Linked DNA regions of Homo sapiens: region 2 is linked to region 1. Evidence: promoter capture Hi-C in 16 types of primary human blood cells and fetal thymus (Javierre and others, 2016). All regions are on one chromosome and are shown on one strand. Each heading gives the region's core, a stretch centred on a gene start or on the middle of the fragment in contact. The rest is flanking DNA. Distances are from core to core; before and after follow the strand shown. Region 1 holds the start of CCNA2 (cyclin A2). Region 2 overlaps ANKRD50 (ankyrin repeat domain containing 50).

The links. The method cuts DNA at HindIII sites, captures the fragments that hold promoters and counts their contacts. A CHiCAGO score of 5 or more calls a contact.
Region 2: a contact is called between a fragment that was not itself captured here and the fragment with the promoter of CCNA2 in region 1, in 1 of 17 cell types (fetal thymus). The highest score is 5.7, in fetal thymus.

Annotation. Positions count from the first base shown.
Region 1 is chr4:121,822,359-121,825,240 of GRCh38, forward strand. CCNA2 (cyclin A2) reads right to left here and starts at 1,525. Exons shown (of 8, transcript NM_001237.5): 1 at 1,058-1,525; 2 at 45-288. The coding sequence starts at 1,270. BBS7 (Bardet-Biedl syndrome 7) reads right to left here. Exons shown (of 19, transcript NM_176824.3): 19 at 1,971-2,882. RefSeq lists enhancers at 1,064-1,113, 1,304-1,373. The HindIII fragment of the contact is 5,182 bases long and covers 1-2,448 here.
Region 2 is chr4:124,707,721-124,710,602 of GRCh38, forward strand. ANKRD50 (ankyrin repeat domain containing 50) reads right to left here. Exons shown (of 5, transcript NM_020337.3): 2 at 2,280-2,882. The coding sequence starts at 2,791. Among named protein-coding and RNA genes, the nearest start is that of ANKRD50, 3.6 kb to the right of the region's middle. The HindIII fragment of the contact is 202 bases long and covers 1,437-1,638 here.

The DNA of each region.
Region 1 (2,882 bases), core at 275-2,774:
ATTATAATTACCGTAATTCCACACAGATTTTCCTTAAAACTTACCAAAACTACCATCCATTGGATAATCAAGAGGGACCAATGGTTTTCTGGGTCCAGGTAAACTAATGGCTGAATTAAAAGCCAGGGCATCTTCACGCTCTATTTTTTGAGATTCAGCTGGCTTCTTCTGAGCTTCTTTTTCTGCTTCATCCACATGAATGGTGAACGCAGGCTGTTTACTGTTTGCTTTCCAAGGAGGAACGGTGACATGCTCATCATTTACAGGAAGATCCTTAAGGGGTGCAACCTAAAAAAAAATTAATAACTGGCTTTGAGCCTACTAGTCTTGCATTCTTTCTCTTATGGGTGTTGGCCTTTGCTTTTTCTCCCAAATACTCTATCAGGAATTAAACTTTCTGGGACAAAGAAGAGTTTCAGTATTCAAAAGAGAAGGGATGTTCCCATTTGTCACAGGCATTCCCACAAAGGCTATCAATAGATAACACTAGGTGGAATTATGCAAAACTTATCAGGGCCACAAGAAGGGTCGGGTGACAGGCCAATACGTGACAAGTTTAGGAAAGACAGCAAAAAAATTGTTGGTTCACCACTGTCGCCCGAGGGTGGAGCAACAGAGCAAATCCGGCTAAAATGGCGGAATTTGCCAAAAGCAAAGTATTTTGTACACGCTTTTCTAAAGTAGAGGTCATCTCTTAAGCGTGAGGAGGATAGGGGTCAGAGTCCTACAGCAGTGCCTGGGGTTTAAAAGTGGAGAGAAAGGCGCGGAGCTGAGCGAAGACTACACGTTTTAGAGCTTGGTTTGACCCCATTATGTACAGGCAGATGCCCCCTATAGAGAGCAGACCGGCAGCATACACACAGTGTTGGCGGGGTCCTGATGCTAATATGGGAGAACTCCTACTGTGGCAAACCACACACCAGCACCAACTGCACTCCAGACCCTGGCCCCCTTCCAAAAGCCCAGGACATGCCTTCTCGCCACTCTTCTCTGCCTGCTAAGCCAATGCCAAACCCTGCTCGACCCACCCTCCTGCAGATATCCCGCATCCCTTTACCCGTCTCGTCTTCGGCCTCTGCTGCTGCGCTAGACCCCGCGGGTTCCCGGACTTCAGTACCGCCAGCGCGGCCCGGGTCCGCGGTTGTTGGACGGGCGCTGCCTTTTCCGGGTTGATATTCTCCTGGTCCTCTTGGAGCGCCGTCTGCTGCAATGCTAGCAGCGCCGAGCCCGCCTCGCGGGTCGCAGGCCCCGGCGCAGAGTTGCCCAACATCACTGCTCCCGGGAGTGGACGGCGGGATCAGCCTGCGGCGCCAAGCAGCGTGCACTCTGCCCAGCCGACCACTCGCACCGACCCGGCCAAAGAATAGTCGTAGCCGCCGGTCGCAGCCCAGGCCAGCCTACCAGCCCGCCCGCTCGCTCACCCAGCTCGAGACCACGCAGGGCCGAGGAGGTTGCGAAAGGCGCAGGCAGGCACTGCCCAGCGTGGCGAGCCAAAGACGCCCAGAGATGCAGCGAGCAGCCCGCCGGAGCGGCGGCTGTTCTTGCAGTTCAAGTATCCCGCGACTATTGAAATGGACCAATGAAAGCGCTCGCGGCCTTGACGTCATTCAAGGCGACAGGGTCGCAGGCGAGTGAAGGGTAAACCAAAGGAAACTGAGCAGGGGCGGGGCAGGAGGGAGAAACAAACTGGCTGGGGCGGGAGAAAACGCCTGCGCGGGGCGGGGAGAGGTAGGATTTAGGGCCCGACGCTTCCGATTATTTTAAGCTGAGCCACCTAGTGAGCGAGGCTGTCCGAAGGCTGACTCTAAGCCTTTTAGGGAATTAAACGGAATTAAACTTTGGCGACTATCATTTGGGTTGCCCAGCCTTTAGCTCTGGGACGTCTAGTTAGCTTAAGTGACTTTTTCCAAAGGTCTAAAATCTGGGGCACGTTTTTCAGTATCTCCGATTCTCCGTTTTCTTATGTGTTAATAGGGACTAATAACTACAGTCATATGGTTGTTAGGATTAAATAATGTGCATAAATTATTTAACACGGAGCTCACATAGTAATACAGTACTCAAGTGTCAAGACTGTAATGTCATCTTAACATTTAGGCGTTTATTCATAGTAACCAGAAATTGTGTTTTATGCTTTTTATTTTTCCTAATGAAGATGCAATTAATTTAAGATGGCACCTTGAACTACTGTTGATATATATAATAAATAGCAGTGCATTACAAAATATTCAAATACAGTCATTAATTTTTTTCTATTTTTCCCCAAGCTGTGGCAACCAACAAAAAACACAATGACGTTCTAGTGACCTAGATATAATTATGTTCCTTTCAGAAGTAAAGTTTTTTAAACATAGTAAAAACAATATGACCTTATTAAAATAAAACTCTCTTAACTATACGTGCCTTTAACAAATTTTTATATTTATATATAAATATAAGAATATACAAAGCTTGCACATAACTAATAAGTATAATAGCATATCATTAAGAAGCACTGTTTTCTAAAAAATTCGTGAGTCTGCCCTTCTTGAAACATAAAGCTTATTTTCCATTATCTGTATGCCATTTTAAAACCTTTCAATATTCCCTTGAAATTAATAAATATGAATTAAGATTAATGCACAAAACTTCTGTAGCCTTAATGTCATATATGATAAAAAGAGATCTAGAAGATACTAGTGTAGGAAAATCTAAGATGGCATCACTATTTCTGCACTCTTCACTTGAAGCACGCTGAATAGCTCCACTGGTTACAGCATGTCTAATTAAGATCCCCCGACTCTGTGTAAGCTCTTCTTATTTCCTGGCTACAATTTATAGCACTGAGCCAAGTCCAGCATTTCCACAAACTGCAGCAGAGTCATAAAACACTACCAAGCAAA
Region 2 (2,882 bases), core at 288-2,787, 2.9 Mb after region 1:
GATTGGCTCCTTCTGTCAATCAGAAAAGCAGGGCTGGTATGGTTTTTACACACAGCTCTAATTGCTTCTTCTTCCTCTTCAATTAGCTAATAACTGAGAATCACACAGGAAAAAGAAAAAATAAAAGAAACAATTGAATAAAAGAATTATTTTTCAGGAAAATCTATGATACCATAGAGAAAGCTATGCTTAGGATCAGAATATATCAAAAATACAGTAATCAGACATGATTTTTAAACATTCAACATTCAGGTATCAGAAATTTACATATGAATTTCAATAAATTATAAATTACATACCTTGGTTACATCAGATTAAGTTCACCTCAGACTAAGCTCTTTGAAAGTTATTGGTAGGTGTCAATAAACCTAAATAGCTTATGAAATTACTTATCACAAAGAAATGAAAATTCTGCTCTGCCACTAGTATCTTCAGAAAAAGCAGTAAGAAGAAAAGAGTTGCTTATGTACAGTTTTAATTCTATTAAAAGGTATAGTTTTATATTAAAGACTACATTATTTATTCTGTACAGTGATTCCATATTGAACACTCTCCATCAAACCTTGCATCTCACATGCCACAGGCATCAACTAACAGATTTCCTCATTAATTTAAGAATGATACAACAGTTTTAACGCTGACTTTGATGGCTAACAACAAAAGATAATAGATTTGCCTTTAGTTTTATTGGACTAAATTTACATATTAAAGAGTCTACAAGAATATCACACCTCTCAAAGATACATCCCTTTGGCTGACTTTAATAAATTCCTCCCATATTTGAATTCTGTACCATCCCTAACTCTCATTCTAGAATACCACTCCCTCTATCACTATATGGGTAATCTGAAAACCACACTCAAACCACACTGTGACACAACTCCTGTTCTCCAGCTTTGCCATACATAACCTTCTAAACCCCTCCTCTTCCCATCAAGTCCCCCAGAGAATTTCTAAGATTACTAACACATACACACACACACACACACACACACACACATACACACACACACATTTAAAATCTCAGCCCTGCCATTTACTAGTCTGTAACCTTGAACAATTTATTTAGCCTCTCTGTACCTTAGTTTCCTCATCTATAAAATGGGAGTAGTAACTACCTCACAGGATTATTATGAGGATTAAATGATCTAATATTTGTAAAGCACTTAGAATAATGACTGACACTTACTGTTTACTGTAATTACTATTAAATATTTTCAATATTACTTTCAAAATGTATAGATTTCACCCCATTAGATTTGAGGATATCATAAAAACAAACATCACTCTTTTTAGAGTGATTCAAATCTCTCCTAGAAACACACTCAAGCAGAAGAGAGCCACACACACACACACACACAAACCTCCAGTGCACAGTATACCAGAATCTTTGGAGAACAAACTTTTGCCCGCTAAGAATGTTATTGTAGAGAAAAAGCTTATGGCAAAATGGGTAATTCAAGCAGAAGTGAAGCACAAACTAACAATTTGCCTGCTACTTTTACAATGAGCAGAGGCATGATATGCAAAAAAAAATGTTTTCAAGGAATTATATTTTCTTGAACAGATTTGAATCTGAAACCACTCTGGAAAGCAACTTGCTCACTTCCTGGACCAATCCATTTACCATGGAAAAAAAGCTTTGCTGAAGTTAGGAAAAAACACTTTCTTTGTACCACTCACTAAAAGTAAAAGTAGTAAGATGATCCCAAATGTTCGCTATTTTATAAATTCACATACTTCTAAATACCAGTTTTTCAATTAGTTAGTTAATAGGAGAATAAATCCCAAAACTCATCAGCAAATTTTCTTCAGATTCTCAGTGGCCAATAATCTCCTTTAAAGAAAACCTTTCTTACTTAAAAAAATACTACTACTATAAGGAAAAAAATAAAAAGATACTAGATGCTATACTGATAATTACTCTAAGTTCAGTTCACCCTCTGAAAATGTAACCTATTTCCAGACAGCTAAATGTGCTTCTCTACCATAAGAACAAATTTCCCTTACCATTTATAGGCAATGTAAGTAACATTATGTTATTAAGTAAAATTAAGATACACTTTTAATCCATTTTAATCCATATGCTGTGCAATACCAAAACCTAAATTTTACTTCCTTTGATATTCAAAGTAAACAGGTATACTCATAACTTCAGATTAAGGCCAAATGTACAGCACCAGTAAAAGTAACCCACAAAGTTAAAACAAAAAACTACAACTAAAAATTAATTTAATTTCAGCATAGAAATCTGAACACCATGACATTTTTATTGTTACCTTTTAAATGCTTCGGCTGGGTTTCTCTCGCACTCCCCAGGCTGTAAGAGGCTTTGGACTGCTGGATCCCTTAGCTTGTCCTCATATCCTTGGAGTAGTCCACTGCGGCAGATCTGGGCTACTAGACCTCTAATAAACCCTCCAACACACAAAGTATCAGAGTCCTGGGCTTTGCAGAAATGAAAGGCCAAAGCTTGGCGATGTAAACCTCTCTGCAAACTTGCAGGTGAACTTGGCCATAAGAGTTCAGTACATAGGGCCGTCTTGCCACTGCCAGGCCCTCCTACCAACAACACACCCCAGGCAGCTCCCTTTCCAGAGACACCACTAGCATTATTCCCAGAATTCATTACAAGTGATGGTGCATTGACAGCACTATTGCAGCAGTTACTTTTCTCCTGGAGGCAATGCTGAAGCTTGTGGAAAACCCACTCCCTACAGTAAAACTGCTTCCCTTGCAGTAAACTGGTTTGAGCCATTTTGCAGACTTTCTCTTCCCAAGGATTAGTCATAACGGGTTTTTTATCTTCATTTGCTAGAGTCTGGATACATCAACACAGGTCTTTCCATCCATTATGACATAACTTGTATATTAAGTTGACT